Linked DNA regions of Homo sapiens: regions 1 and 2 are each linked to region 3. Evidence: promoter capture Hi-C in 16 types of primary human blood cells and fetal thymus (Javierre and others, 2016). All regions are on one chromosome and are shown on one strand. Each heading gives the region's core, a stretch centred on a gene start or on the middle of the fragment in contact. The rest is flanking DNA. Distances are from core to core; before and after follow the strand shown.

Region 1 (2,700 bases), core at 82-2,581, 160 kb after region 3:
CTAATGCTATCAAACATCCTTTTTAAAAAAAAGACTGTTTTTTTTAGAGCACTTTCAGGTTCACAGCGAGTTTTAGTGGAAGGTATAGAGATCTCCCATATACTCCCCTCCCCCCCACCCCCACACATGCATGGCCTTCTTCACTATTCACACTCCCTCACCAGAGGGTGCCTTTGTATAATTGATGATCCTATATTGGCACATCATTATTACCTGGAGTCTACAGTTTACATGAGGGCTCACTCTTGGTGTTGTACGTTCTGTGGGTTTGGAGAAATGTATAATGACATGTACCCTCCATTGTAGCATCAGAGAGAGTAGTTTCCCTGCCCTAAAAGTCATCTGTGTTCTGCCTACTCACCCCTCCCTCCCCCCAACCCCTAGCATCCATTGGTTTTTTCACTGTCTCCATAGTTTTACCTTTTCCAGAATGTCATAGGGTTGGAATCCTGCAGGATGTAGCCTTCTTAGATAGGTTTCTTTCATTTAGTAACGTACATTTAAGCTTCCTCCATGTCTTCAAGGCTTGATAACTCATTTCTTTTTAGCACTGAATAACATTCCATTGTCTGGACATACTACAAATTACTTAGTCATTCACCTACTGAAGGACATCTTGGTTGTTTCCAGGTTTTGGCAATTACAAATAAAGATGCTGTTAGCATTCATGTGCAGGTTTTTGTACGGAAGGAAGTTTTTAACTCCTTTGGGTAAATACCCAGGAGTGTGATTGCTGGATCATAAGGTCAGAGTATGTTTAGTTCTGTAGAAAGCTGCTGAACTGCCTTCCAGAAGTAGAATTTCTGGATCATATGGTAATTCTTATGTTTAACTTTTTTTGGTGGAATCACCATACAGTTTTCCATACAGGCCATAGTATTTTACATTCCCACCATCAGTGTACAAGGGTTCCAGTTTTATTAAATCCTTGCCAATACTTGTTATTTTCTGATTTTTTTTTTTTTTTGAAATGGAATAATTCTGTTGCCCAGGCTGGAGTGCACTGGAGCAATCTCAGCTCACTACAACGTCCACCTCCCGGGTTCAAGCAATTCTCCTGCCTCAGCCTCCCAAGTAGCCTAGATTACAGGTGTGAGCCACCACGCCCAGCTAAATTTTGTATTTTTAGTAGATACGGGGTTTCACCATGTTGGCCAGTCTGGTCTCAAACTCCTGACCTCTGCCCATCTCAGCCTCCCAAAGTGCTGGGATTACAGGCGTGAGCCACCACACCCAGCTAACTTTTGTATTTTTTGTAGAGACAGGGTTCAACCATGTTGTCCAGGCTGGGTTCGAACTCCTGACCTCAGGTGATCTGTCTGCCTCGGCCTGCCAAAGTGCTGTGATTACAGGCATGAGCCACTGCGCCCAGCCTATTTTCTGATTTTTTTGATAGTAGTCATTCTAGTGGGTATATCTTTGTAGTTTTGGCTTGCATTTCCCTAATGGTTAGTGATGCCAAGCACCCTTTTTGTTCTTATTGGCCATTTGTCTTCTTTGGATAAATGTCTATTCAAATCCTTTGCCTATTTTTGAATCAGGTTTTTGTTAATGTCTTTAGGAGTTCTCAATATATTCTGTGTATTAATCCCTGATCAGATACATCAATCACAATTATTTTCTTCCATTATATGGGTTGCCTTTTTATTTTATTCAAAGTGTCTTTTGATGTACAAAATTTAAAATGTTCATAATGTTCAGTTTGTTTATTTTTTGTTGGGCTGCCTATGCCTTTGGTGTCATATCTAAGATAACATTGTTGAATTTATTATAATGAAGGTTTTGTCTGTGTTTTCGTCTGAGTTTTATCATTTCGGGTCTTACATTTAGATCTTTGATCATTTTGAGTTAATTTTTGTATATGGTATAAAGTATGGATCCAACTTTGTTTTTGCATGTGGATATCCAGTTGTCCTTGCACTATTTATTGAAAAGACTGCCCTTTCTCTATAGAACGATCGTGGCACGCCTGTTAAAAAAAACAATTGGCCATGTATGCAAGGATTTCTTTCTCGGCCCTCTCTTCTGTTGCATTGGGCTGTGTGTCTAATAGGCCACCGCAGGGAAAGCCTGGAATTTTAACTGTGGGCCTACAAGAATATAGAGGAGCCCTCATTGTTAACCAACAGGGGGATCCAAAGTAGGAGTTTAAGCTTAAAAAATTTTTAATTTTGTTTCAGGTCAGATTTTTGCTCTTTAATTTTAAAGAGAATTTTTAAGGCTAACCATAGCATTGTTGGGTCTTTCTAGAAATTGGCTTGCATTTCCTAGTGGTTAGTGATGCCAAGCACCCTTTTTGCTCTTGATGTTTTTATCAGTTGTTTAGGATGAGATTTCTAAAATCCTTTTTTAAATTTACAATTCTAATTTAAAGGATCCATCTTTTGGCCATTGACATTTAGAATTTTCAGTGGTGTATAAAGTCCAGGATAGATCCTGGAGAGGACATAGAAGAAGCAATTCCAAAGATACCTCCCACAAAACATTTACTGTCAGGAATGAGCTCAATCAGCAAAGACTCTTGTTGACACAGACTAACCAGGCAGCAGGAGTTGAGATGACAAAAGCCCCTTACACGTGGGACCTCTTATTAAGACAAACTCCCGAGCGCTTGACGTATGCAGAACAAAAAGTCTTGGGTTCCTGTCTTCAGACCGGCCACCCGACCTGATCCGAAAATCGTACCTCCCCCAATGGTGG
Region 2 (2,700 bases), core at 84-2,583, 180 kb after region 3:
TCACATCCATGTGTAGCCCCATGGGGCCAGAATCAGCTACACCTGGAAGATGGCCGAGATGAGGGTGGAGCAGGGCCTCCTCCTGCATGGCCTCCGTTTGATCGGCAGTCATGGGCCTTCACCGAGGGACACTGAGCAGAGGCCCCAGGAACCCAGCACTGTGCTCAGTTTTGAAATGTTTCTTAGGGCCTTGTTCACTACATTACATGATGCCTTGAGAATTCACAGGAAACATTGATCTTTGGCCAAAACACCAGAAAATAGCTCATCATGGCCCAAACTGCTGATGATTTGTGGCTCACCTTTGGATTTTGTGGGTAAAGTTACTGTTTCCTTCTTTTTAATTCTGGCTGCTAGGAAGCCAGGGCTGGATATAGGCCCTCTGGTGAGTGTTCCAGAGTCTACAGGAGGAATTTTGGGTATGACCTTATCCTGGCCTTTTTATGTTTTCCTTTCTTGTTCATTGAGCTGGATTTCTTTACTTTAAATTGTTTTTCTTTCTTTTTTTTTGAGTCAGAGTTTCACTCTTGTCGCCCAGGCTAGAGTGCAGTGGTGTGATCTTGGCTCACTGTAACCTCCACCTCTCGGGTTCAAGCGATTCTCCTGCCTGAGCCTCCCGAGTAGCTGGGATTACAGGTGCCCGCCACCATGCCTGGCTAATTTTTGTATTTTTAGTAGAGATGGGGTTTCACCATGTTGGTCAGGCTGGTCTTAAACTCCTGAACCCAGATGATCTGCCTACCTTGGCCCCCCAAAGTGCTGGGATTCCAGGCGTGAGCCACCGTGCCCGGCCTAACAAAATTGTATGCATTTTTAATAAACTCTTAAGCTACTTCTTAGGACAAAAATGACAGCTATAAATAATTACATCTTATTTAAAAATAACCATCTTCTCATAAATTTTGATTGTAGAAAGTACAGTATACTTTTACTTTTGCACTCCCTGCCTCTCCAAGGCCGAGATTTTGCAAAAATGTACCTGAGGCTGGAGAGACAGCAAATAACAGATGGGTCCTGGGCTGAGATTTAACTCCAAAGCAATACCATGCCACACTCACGCCTCTTGTGAAACTGGAATTACAGTAGGTGAAACTTCCTTTTAAAGAAATACTGATTAAAAGAGATTGTTTTCTTTCAACAGGGAGAACCTTGCTAGTGACATGTATCTTATATCACAGATGGATAGTGACCAGTATGTGCCAATCACAACGGTGGCTAACCTCGACCACATCAAGAAGCTCAGCACTGATGTGGACTTGATTGTGGAAGTGCTAAGATGTAAGTAAATGACAATTTAAATTAATAATACTTGTCCTTAGAGTATTTGTCTTATCAGCATGAACCTTTAAATCTATAGCCATCAAACGTTAAGGTCCTTGATGGCGAATCAGATTCTTTTCTGGCCTTCCGTTCCTTTCTGCCCAGGTCCAATAATTCTGGAGTAGCGCCTGATAGTCCCTGGGAATGCCAGTTGAACCCGTTATGAAACCTCAAACAAGTTTTGGGACATATGAAGTAGAAAAGAATCTTGTTAATGGGGATTTTAAAGATAGCTGTTTCATTCATGAAAAACAAAATAAAAATAACATTTATAGTTAAAGTAAAATACACTTTAGTTACAGTTTTACCACTAGAGGTTTTTCTTTCAAATTGCAACTTCCTGTTTATGTTCGGATGAAATAATTATTGCAATTTTTCTTAAAATTATGTTGTGGGCCAGGTGTGGTGGCTTACGCGTGTAATCCCAGCACTTTTGGAGGTCGAGTTGGGCGGATCATGAGGTCAGGAGATTGAGACTGTCTTGGCCAACATGGTGAAACCCTGTCTCCACTAAAATACAAAAAATTAGCTGGGCGTGGTGGTGTGTGCTTGTAATCCCAGGTACTTGAGAGGCTGAGGCAGGGAAATCACTTGAACCCAGGAGGCGGAGGTTGCAGTTAGCTGAGATTGTGCCATTGCACTCCAGCCTGGCGACAGAGATAGACTCCATCTCATAAAAAAAAAAAAAAATTATGTTGTGAGTGAAGTTGTTTCTTTGAAGTTTGGCAACATCAAACAGTGTTTAAGCATTAAGTGTGGATGGTGCCCCTACATAGTTTTGAGTGATTGGACATTGCTAAGCCTGACTTCAAGTCTCAATTAAGTCCACTGCCTATACTCACATAGAAGGGTTTTCACGTTGTCCCTGGCTTATCTGTACTGACGACAGTCTGTGCAGGTTTTTTTTTTTTCTTGTATGAATTTGACTTTACAGTAGTATAAAAAAGTGAGCATCTTACATGAGAACTTAGTTGGATTTTCTTTTCACAAATAAAATATAAAATAAAAGTTTTATGTTTTTCTGTTTTTAGACAAATAGCATGGGTTATTAAATTATTGGAGACAGTGAAAAAACTGACAAACATAATTACCATTGACTGTGAGTTCTGAGAGCGGCACTGCTGTCTCCCAGGATGGCGCCGTGCTCCCTGGTGTCATCATGCAGAACAGAAGCTGTTGTCTGTGCCAGCTGAATTGGGCCCCATCTTTGAAAGGCCAGCAGCATTCTTGTCCCTGTTTGTACTCTGAAGTCTTTTTGGTTATGATTAGGAGTTTCAGGTTTAGTTATTCCTTTTCGGACAGACCTTGCAAACGCTGCTGCCCCACTGGGATGATTTCTCAGTTGATTGTTACTGGCAAGGGGTCGTTTCCACCAACCAT
Region 3 (2,700 bases), core at 107-2,606:
ATTTTTTAATTTTCATTTTTGTGTCTTTTTTATAAACACATAATAATTATGCATATTAATGGGGTACATGTGATAGTTTGATACCACCATGTCATGCATAATGATCAAATAGGGCATTTTGGGATATCCATCACCTCAAACATTCATCATATCTTTGTGTTGGGAACATTCCAAATCCTCTGTTCTAGCCACATTGAAACATATAATACACTGTTGTTAACTACAGTCACCCTACTGTGCTATTGAACAGCTGATATTATTCCTTCTCTATCGCGGTATGTTTATACTTATTAACCACCCTCTCGTCATCCCTCCCCACTGCCCTTCGCAGCCTCTGGTGTCTAGCATTGTGTTTTCTGCCTCCATGAGATCAACTTCTTTAGAGCCCACATAGCAGTGAGAACATGTGATACTTGTTTTTCTGTGCCAGGTTTGTTCCACTTAACACAATGGCCTCCAGTTCCATCCATGTTGCTACAAATGACAGGATTTCATTCTTCTTTTTTTTTTTTTTTTTGAGACAGAGTCTTGCTCCATTGCCCAGGCTGGAGTGCAGTGGTGCAATCTCAGGTCACTGCCAGCTCTGCCTCCTGGGTTCATGCCATTCTCCTGCCTCAGCCTCCCGAGTAGCTTGGACTACAGGCACCTGCCACCACGCCCAGCTAATTTTTTTGTATTTTTAGTAGAGACGGGGTTTCACCATGTTAGCCAGGGTGGTCTCGATCTTCTGACCTCGTGATCCGCCCACTTCAGCCTCCCAAAGTGCTGAGATTACAGGCGTGAGCCACCGCACCCGGCCCGATTTCATTCTTCTTTTGTGGTGGAATGGTATGCCACTGTGTATCTAACCCTCATGTTTTCAACCCTTCAAACCTCCACGGACACAGGTTGATCTCATATCTTGGCTGTCGTAAATGGTGCTCAGCACCCAGGAATGCTGCGATATCTCTCTGATAGACTGATCTCTTTTATTTTGGATATTTGCCCTGGTAGTGGGATTTCTGGGTCATCTGGTAGATCTATTTTTAGTTTCCCGAGTGTTCTAATCCGCTGAGATTCTGAAACGTTGTGTTTGGGCATCCAGCAGTCCCCTTTGCCCTGCCCAGGTGCCACAATCACAGGCTTTTCTACGAGAAACAGACTGAGGACAAAAAGCACGAAGGACAATCGTACAGACTCCAGGCATGCACTCACACAAATGGCACTTACCTTTGCAGGGCTGCTGCACCGAGCCTTCAGCGTTGTCTTGTTTAACACCAAGAATCGAATCCTGATACAGCAGAGGTCGGACACGAAAGTCACGTTTCCTGGTGAGTCCGTTCAACCAAGCCCCGGACTGAAGAGAGCATCTCATGTGACTTGACCGGAGGAATCTGGGACAGGAACTCTCTGGTGCTCAGTGCCGCACTGTGGTGAGCTGGCAGCTCATCCTGCAGAAAATCGGCAGCTTAGGCAGATGCTAATTATGCTGATAGCTCTTCAGTAGGCTGGGTTTTCTTTTTTAAAAAAGTAAGAAACTATATGAGTTTCTGGGTTTTTTTGTTTTGTTGTTTCTTTGCAACGGCAAGTTACTTAAATGCAGAGGAATTTATCAACCTAAGGATTTAGGGGATTAAAATAGCATTTAGCATAAAATTAACTAGGTAATAATAATAAAAATTATCTTACAGGTCTTAGAGTTTTAATTATCTTGTACTTCTTAAAATTACAACTTAAAATTTTTTTTTTTTTTTGGAGATGGAGTCTGGCTCAGTCACCCAGGCTGGAGTGCAGTGGCGCCATCTCGGCTCACTGCAAGCCCCGCCTCCTGGGTTCACGCCATTGTCCTGCCTCAGCCTCCCAAGTAGCTGGGACTACAGGCGCCCGCCACCACACCCGGGTAACGTTTTGTATTTTTAGTAGAGACGGGGTTTCACCGTGTTAGCCAGGATGGTCTCGATCTCCTGACCTCGTGATATGCCTGTCTTGGCCTTCCAAAGTGCTGGGATTATAGGCGTGAGCCACCGGGCCCGGCCAAAAAATTTTTTAGAGGGGAACAGCATTTACGTCAATTGTGGTCATTTAAAGTGTTTTGGCCTAGGCTGTCCTCAAATTTTCAAAACCAGACCTTGCCTGAGCCATTAAAGCGAATGGCTAAGCACGGCCAGCTGTGGCCGAGGTTTTCTCCTCCCTTAGTTCTTCCTCGGAGCCGCAGTGGGTACATCCTGCCCATTCCCAAACCCACCACCATACTTGCTGGTCAAGTTGTACTCACGGGCTCCTTGATGGAGCTGAATGCAAAGTTTGTTTCAGAAAAATTCAGGAGCTGCAAAGTTAAGAGGGTCAACTGTAGTACATAGTCAACAGTTTGCAAATAAAGCCCCTGGAGCTAAGATTTCCTATCATGTGTTAGCCGCCTCCAGGATACATAGGGGCAGGTGGGAGTACCAGCTCTTGTACTTGCAAGAGTGGATTCAACTTCAGCCAAACTCCTTGCAGAGTGACCGAAGGAAGCACTGAGGGTCTGAGGAACGAGAGGGAACAGAGATTTACTGAGGAGAGTGTGACCTCCCGTCATAGCGCTATTGCTGTTACTTGGGTAAATTAAGTAGAACCTCTCAGTAAGGAAACTTGGTCAAAGGTATTCCAGCAGTCTTCCTGTGAAACCATGCTCACTGATCACCACCCTCAAAGTGCAGCCCAGCTTCCTCAGCCCAGCTG

What was found. The method cuts DNA at HindIII sites, captures the fragments that hold promoters and counts their contacts. A CHiCAGO score of 5 or more calls a contact.
Region 1: a contact is called between a fragment that was not itself captured here and the fragment with the promoter of IDI2-AS1 in region 3, in 1 of 17 cell types (monocytes). The highest score is 5.5, in monocytes.
Region 2: a contact is called between a fragment that was not itself captured here and the fragment with the promoter of IDI2-AS1 in region 3, in 1 of 17 cell types (monocytes). The highest score is 6.9, in monocytes.

Annotation. Positions count from the first base shown.
Region 1 is chr10:857,544-860,243 of GRCh38, reverse strand. All of the region lies in intron 5 of LARP4B (La ribonucleoprotein 4B), which reads left to right. Among named protein-coding and RNA genes, the nearest start is that of LARP4B, 73 kb to the left of the region's middle. The HindIII fragment of the contact is 1,648 bases long and covers 508-2,155 here.
Region 2 is chr10:841,510-844,209 of GRCh38, reverse strand. It overlaps LARP4B (La ribonucleoprotein 4B), which reads left to right. Exons shown (of 18, transcript NM_015155.3): 7 at 1,142-1,278. Among named protein-coding and RNA genes, the nearest start is that of LARP4B, 89 kb to the left of the region's middle. The HindIII fragment of the contact is 4,915 bases long and covers 1-2,700 here.
Region 3 is chr10:1,021,293-1,023,992 of GRCh38, reverse strand. IDI2-AS1 (IDI2 antisense RNA 1) reads right to left here and starts at 1,356. Exons shown (of 5, transcript NR_027709.1): 1 at 1,210-1,356. It overlaps IDI2 (isopentenyl-diphosphate delta isomerase 2), which reads left to right. Exons shown (of 5, transcript NM_033261.3): 3 at 1,218-1,310. The HindIII fragment of the contact is 10,709 bases long and covers 1-2,700 here.